Regions from separate parts of the Homo sapiens genome. Here region 2 is linked to region 1. The links are contacts of gene promoters, found by promoter capture Hi-C in blood cells and fetal thymus (Javierre and others, 2016). All regions are on one chromosome and are shown on one strand. The core of a region is centred on a gene start or on the middle of the fragment in contact, and the rest is flanking DNA. Distances in the headings are between cores, read along the strand shown.

Region 1 (3,273 bases), core at 510-3,009:
ACAACTCCTCCAAGTGGCCCTGGTATTTGTTTTAATCCAACTCCCTTTGTATTAAAATGTTGAAGGAGAAAAGGGCATAGGATGGGGGAGAAAGGAGGGCCAACTATATTGTTTTGCCCTGTTCCAAGTCCTCTTCAGCAATGACTTGACAGCTGCTCATCATTTTGAGTTTTTCAACTATGTGGTAATTAATATTTATAAATAAAGTGCAGTGGTTGCTCCCAAGGACTAGGCACTATTTAGAATCTAGCCATCCATTTAGCACATCGTAATTGAAACCCTTCAGTGTCTTGTACTGCTCTTGGGGTTCAAACTTGAACCCTAACTCAGTCTGCAAGGGTCTGGACCTTGCCCACCATTTTTGCCTGATGTCACCCCAATCTCACCCTTGTCCCCCAAGCTCTCACTCTTTGAGCTCTTCTTGGAGTTCAGCCACAGGACCTTTGCATATGTGCTTCCCTTTGCCCGGATGACTCCTGGGTTAACTAGATTTGGCTACAGCTCAAGTAAGGGCACTTCTTCAGACACTTCCCTGACCGTGCAGCAGTCTTGGTTTTGGAATCTTCTAGTCATTCACAGTAGGGTCTTACTTGTAATTATACACCAAATTGTGTAGTTGTTTTGCTTATGTCTGTTTCCCCCTGTACTCTGAGAACAAGACAATGAATAGCTTGTGTCAGGCCTCTGAGCCAAAGCTCAGCCATTATAACCTCTGTGACCTGCATGTACACATCCAGGTGGCCTGCAGGAGCCAAGAAGCCTGGAGCAGCCAAAAAAAACGCAAAGAAGTAAAACAGCCAGTTCCTGCCTTAACTGATTAACCAACATTACAACATTTTACCATTGTGACTTGTCCCTGCCCTACCTTAGCCGATCAATCGACTTTGTGACATTCTTCTTCTGGACAATGAGTCTTATGATCTCCCCACCCTGTACCTTGTGACCCCTTCCTCTGCTAACAATAGATAACCACCTTCTACTGTAATTTTCCATTACCTAGACAACTCCTATAAAGCAACCCCTTCCCCATCTCCCTTCGCTGACTCTTTTTCGGACTCAGCTGACTTGCACCTAAGTGAATAAACAGCCTTGTTGCTCACACAATGCCTGTTGGTGGTCTCTTCACACGGATGCGCTTGACAGCTTGGTTATCCAAGCGCCCGGATGGTGCTCAGCAAGTGGCAAGTGCTCAATAAATGTGGGTTGAATGAATGAATGGGTGAAAGATTCCCGGAGCTCCTGTAGGGAACTGAGGACCCAAGAGTGAGGAAGCCAGGTCCCCTTCCCCATCCGCGGGGAAATTGGAGGTTGCGGGGGGACACAGATCAATAAACTAAGAAACAAGTCTCGCTCATCTCTCCAGCTGGTGTGCGATTCCTCAAACTAACCCTTCCCCAATCACCGAGGGTTCGAATGAAGGGGTGGGATGCTGAAGGCAAGCGCTGGGTGATCGATCAGCTGAACAATGGTCAGATCCTGGTGGAGATCCCAGGTCCTCAGCCAGGCGGCAGGAGCCCGCGCTGCCCGGCTCGGGCTGGCTGCCAGTTGACCCCTCTCCCCGTCCCTCGTGTCCCACGCGGCGCACTCTCGCCAACGCCCGGCGCGCCAGCCAATGCGCCCGGGCCGCTGTAGCTGCTCCGGGGCCAGGGCGCTGGGCCAGCTCTGGCGCCCGGCGCTTGTGATTGGCTGCCCCCAGCCTCAGCCCAGCGCGCCCTCCCACCCAGGGCGCAGTTGGGTCCCCGCTCGCTGCCTAGCCTCTGCCTTTTCCTCTCCGCCCAGCCAGTGCCCAGCGCGGGGCCCGGATCCGGCCGGGCACTTCCCACAGGCGCCGCAGAGCAGCGTGGGTGCAGGCTGCAGTGGCTGGCGCCGTCCTCGCCCGGCCAGGCCATGAAGGTAGAGTTTGCACCGCTCAACATCCAGCTGGCGCGGCGGCTGCAGACGGTGGCCGTGCTGCAGTGGGTCCTGAAATACCTGCTGCTCGGTAAGGACCCCGCCCCCCGGGCCGCGGGGCTTGGGCTCCATATCCTCCCTCGGGACGGTCCGGATTCCAGGACCTGCATAGAACCTTCCAACCCTCGTTCCCCTGTCGGCCAGAGCAGGCAGGTCAAAGAGGGCATTTGGAGCTAACGTGGACTCTGGTTTCCTCACGAGAACCTCATCGCTAACGACTGTTTAATTTTATTTTCTCCTGCGTTACTTTTTTAAATTGAGGTGCACCTTGCCTACAATAAAAGGCGCAGTTATACGGATACAGCTCGATGACTTTTGGCGACTGTATCTACCAAAATGTAACCATGACCCCATCGAACGCATGAGCACTTTAACCCCTCAAAAGTTGGCAAACTCGTTTCTCGAACTGTTGATTCATAGATGGCAAAGTAATGCCTCAGTAGTTAAAACCTTGTTCCTTCTCCCTCTTTGTCTCCCCACCCTCCTGACAAAGAGCAGTGTTCCCTTTCCCGTTTTGGAGATTTCCTGGATGCATAGCAGTACCTTTCTGTAAAGAAGGCTGCACCACTCATTGCATTTGGTTGAGCGGTTTCTCTCTGGAAATAGTTTGACTCAGTAGCGTGTGTGTTCCAGTTGGTTCCCAAGTTGAGCCCATGAAACATACACGAGCCGAATCATTAGATGGGGCAAAAACGTGGGTGGTTTTTCTTTTTGTTTTTTGTTTTTTCCTTCATATTTGTTCTGCTCTTGAAGTAAATAGGGGTGATGTGGGAGGAGGGAGGAATTTGGGGGAGACCCTTCTATTGAAACATAAACTCTTCTGAAGACTAAGATCATGTGTATGCTGTAAGATCATGGATTGTACAGCGTTGGGGTGGTAATAATAGTAATAAGCCCATTGCATTGGAGAGTTTTACACTTTTAAAACTGCTTTTACATTTCGAAAGCCTGAATCAGTGGTTCTCAACCCTGGCTCTAGATGAGAATCACTGGAGAAGCTTCTAAAAAGTGCAGATGCCCAGGCTCCATCCTGGAATTTGTTTATTATTATTATTATTATTATTATTATTATTATTATCTTTGAGACGGAGTTTCACTCTTGTTGCCCACGCTGGAGTGCAGTGGCGCCATCTCGGCTCACCACAACCTCCGCCTCCCGGGTTCAAGTAATTCTTCTGCCTCAGCCTGCCGAGTAGCTGGGGTTACAGGCATGTGCCACCACATCTGGCTAATTTTGTCTTTTTAGTAGAGACGGGGTTTCTCCATGTTGGTCAGGGTGGTCTCGAACTCCCAATCTCAGGTGATCCGCCTGTCTCAGCCTCC
Region 2 (3,273 bases), core at 222-2,721, 790 kb after region 1:
AACAACCTATGCTTATATGTGTGAACAAAGAAATGACCTGAAACTGGAACTTATATTTAAAAGAAAAGAAGAGCATAAAAGATTGGAAAATTTGCAGCCTGGCCATGTGATAGCAAAGAAAATGCCATTTTCAAGGGAGCAGTTCAAGCAGGCTGCAGAAATTTTCATAAGTAAAAGAGGAGCCAAGTGCTAATAGACAATGGGGAGAAGGCCTTGAAGACATTTCAGAGACCTTCTAGGCAGCCCCTCCCACCACAGGCTAAGAAACCTAGGAGGAAAGTTTGGTTTAGTGGGCCAGGCCCAGGGCCCTACTGCCCTGCACAGCTTTGGGACACTGCTCCCTGCATCCCAGCTACTTCAGCTCCAGCTGGAGTTAAAAGGGGCCCAGGTACAGCTCGTGCCACTGCTTCAGAGGGTGAAAGCCATAGGCCTTGGCAGCTTCCACGTGGTAGTAAGCCTTTGGGCATGCAGAGTGTCATAGCTGAGGCTTGGAAGCCTAGATTTCTGAAGATGTATGAAAAAGCTTGGATGTCCAGGCCGAAGCCCTTATGGAGGACCTCTACTAGGGCAGCACAGAGGGGAAATGAGGGGTTGGAGCCCCCATACAGAGTCTCCAATGGGGCACTGCCATTTGGAGCTGTGAAAAGAGGGCCACCATCCTCCAGACCCCACAACGGGGTCTGTCACAATCTACTGACAGCTTGCCCCCTGCACCTGGACAAGCCTCAGGCACTCAACACCAGCCCTTGCGATTAACCACAGGAGCTGAATCCTGCAAAGCCTCATGGACAGAGATGCCCAAGACCTTGGGAGCCCACCCCTTACACCAGTGTGCCCTGTATGTGAGATATGGAGTCAAGGGAGACTATTGTGGAGCTTTGAGATATAATAATGGCCCTGCTGGGTTTCAGGCTTGCATGGGGCCTGTAGCCACTTTCTTTTGGTGAATTTCTCCCTTTTGGAATGGGATTATTTCTTAATGCCTGTACTCCCATTATGTCTTGGGAGTAACTAACTTGTTTTTGGTTTTACAGGCTCATAGGTGGAACAGACTTGCCTTGTCTCAGATGAGACTTTTGAGTTTGGATTTTTATGTTAATGATGGAATGAGTTAAGACTTTGGGGGACTGTTGGGAAGGCATAATTGTATTTCACAATGAGAGGGACATGAGATTTTAGAGTTGGGGGGCAGAGATAGAATTATATGGTTCGGATCTGTTTCCTTACCAGATTTCATGTGTAATTGTAATCTCCAGTGTTGGAGGTGGTCCTGGTGGGAGGTGACTGGATCATGGGGTTAGAGTTCTCATGAATGGTTTGGCACCGTCCCTCCTTGGTACTGTATAGTGAGTCAGTTCTCACAAGAGCTGGTTGTCTAAAAATGTGCAGCACCTCCCCCACCCTCTCTCTCTTCCTTCTGCTCCAGCCATGTGAAGTGCTGGCTTCTCCTTCACCTTCTGTTGTGATGGTAAGTTTCATGAGGCCTCCTCAGAAGCTGAGCAGATGCCAGCACCATGCTTCCTGTACAGCCTATATCACCATGAGCCAGTTAAACCTCTTTTCTTTATAAATTACCCAATCTCAGGTATTTCTTCATAGCAATGTGGGACCAGACTAATACACCTCTCTAGGAGATAAACATGAGAGAACTTGAGGCCAGAGGATAAAGAAGAGAAAAGCATATGGAATCCTGGGCCTTTACCCCACCTATAGGAAATTGCATAGCTTTTGGGAGGGGATTATATCCATTCTCCCTGCAAACTAAAAGAGAGTGTATTAGTTTACCATTCCTGCTGTAACAACCAACCACAAAATTAGTGGCTTAAAACAATGCAAATGTATTACCTTACAGTTCTGGAGGTCAGAAGTCTAAGATGGGTCCACTGGGTTGAAATCAAGGTGTTGGCAGAGCTGCATTGCATTCTGGAGGCTCTAGGGGAATATCTATTTACTTGCCTTTTCCAGCTTCTACAAGCTGCCCACATTCCCTGGTCCATGGGCCCTTTCTTCACCTTCAGAACCTGCAACAGCCAGTCAAGTCTTTCTCACATTCCACTGCTCTGACACTAGTTACCCTGCCTCCCTCTTCCACATTTAAGGACCTTTGTGATTACACTAGGTCTGCCAGATAATCCAGGATACTCTCCTTATTTTAAGGTCAGCTGAGTAGCAACCTTAATTCCTACTTACCACGTGATATAACATATTCAAAGGTTCTGTAGATTAGGATATGGATGTCTTTGTAAGGAGGAAGGAAAGAATTATTCTCTCTACCACAGAAAAGCTGGAAGAAACAGCTCTCCATTCATAAGTATCCATTCATAAATATCCATTCATAAGTATCTGGAGTGCCATTCTTTATCCATTCATCAATATTTGCAGTGCCTATAGAAGGGGTAGCATCAGTTTCAAATTGGACATAAGCTTAGGCTACTCAGACCCATTGTCTGTCCTACCAGAGGATAAGAAAATTAGAGATCAATGGCAAGCTGGAGAAAGGGAGCAGCCTGAACCTTTTCTGTGGATTAACCAGAACTGCTAATATGGTTTGGCTGTGTCCCGACCCAAACCTCACCTTGAATTGTAATAATCCCCACATAACAAGGGCAGGGCCAGGTGAAGATAATCGAATCATGGGAGCAGTCTCCCCCCTACTGTTCTCGTGGTAGGGAATAAGTCTCATGAGATCTGATGGTTTTATAAATGGAGGTTCCCCTGCACAAGCCTTCTTGCCTGCTGTCATGTAAGATGTGCCTTTGCTCCTCATTCGCCTTCCACCATGATTGTGAGGCCTCCCCGGCCATGTGGAACTGTGAGTCAATTAAACCTCTTTCCTTTATAAATTAGTCAGTCTTGGGTATGTCTGTATTAGCAGTGTGAGAACAGACTAATACAACTGCAGAAGACAATTAGGCACGAAGTGTCTTTCTGCAAGCCAGAAACCCTGGGAGGTGAGGCAAGAGGCTGTGGAGTGTGACTCTGGGGATAACAGTTGGGGGTGATGATGAAAGAGGCAAAGCTAGGTCTTCTGTGCCAGGGAACTTGTGCAATAGGAAAACCTCATGGCTCGGTGCCTCCAAATTGACTCATGTGCATGCCTCTGAGAACCAGCACTTCCCCTGCTGCACCAAGGGTAACAGAAAAGGTCAAACTGACCAGAAGAGCAATGGCCATCAACAATAGTGCAATCACATGGGCAGTTAAGGAAAATAAAGTGGTGCTCTCTTTACTTCTATCTCATTTTCCATCTCTCCAACTCCCCAGAGAAGTTAA

What was found. The method cuts DNA at HindIII sites, captures the fragments that hold promoters and counts their contacts. A CHiCAGO score of 5 or more calls a contact.
Region 2: a contact is called between a fragment that was not itself captured here and the fragment with the promoter of MOGAT1 in region 1, in 1 of 17 cell types (monocytes). The highest score is 6.1, in monocytes.

What each region holds. Positions count from the first base shown.
Region 1 is chr2:222,669,899-222,673,171 of GRCh38, forward strand. MOGAT1 (monoacylglycerol O-acyltransferase 1) reads left to right here and starts at 1,760. Exons shown (of 6, transcript NM_058165.3): 1 at 1,760-1,981. The coding sequence starts at 1,888. It overlaps LOC124907985 (a long non-coding RNA gene), which reads left to right. Exons shown (of 2, transcript XR_007088095.1): 2 at 738-1,104. The HindIII fragment of the contact is 3,409 bases long and covers 1-2,946 here.
Region 2 is chr2:223,462,923-223,466,195 of GRCh38, forward strand. No RefSeq gene overlaps it. Among named protein-coding and RNA genes, the nearest start is that of SCG2, 140 kb to the right of the region's middle. The HindIII fragment of the contact is 1,901 bases long and covers 522-2,422 here.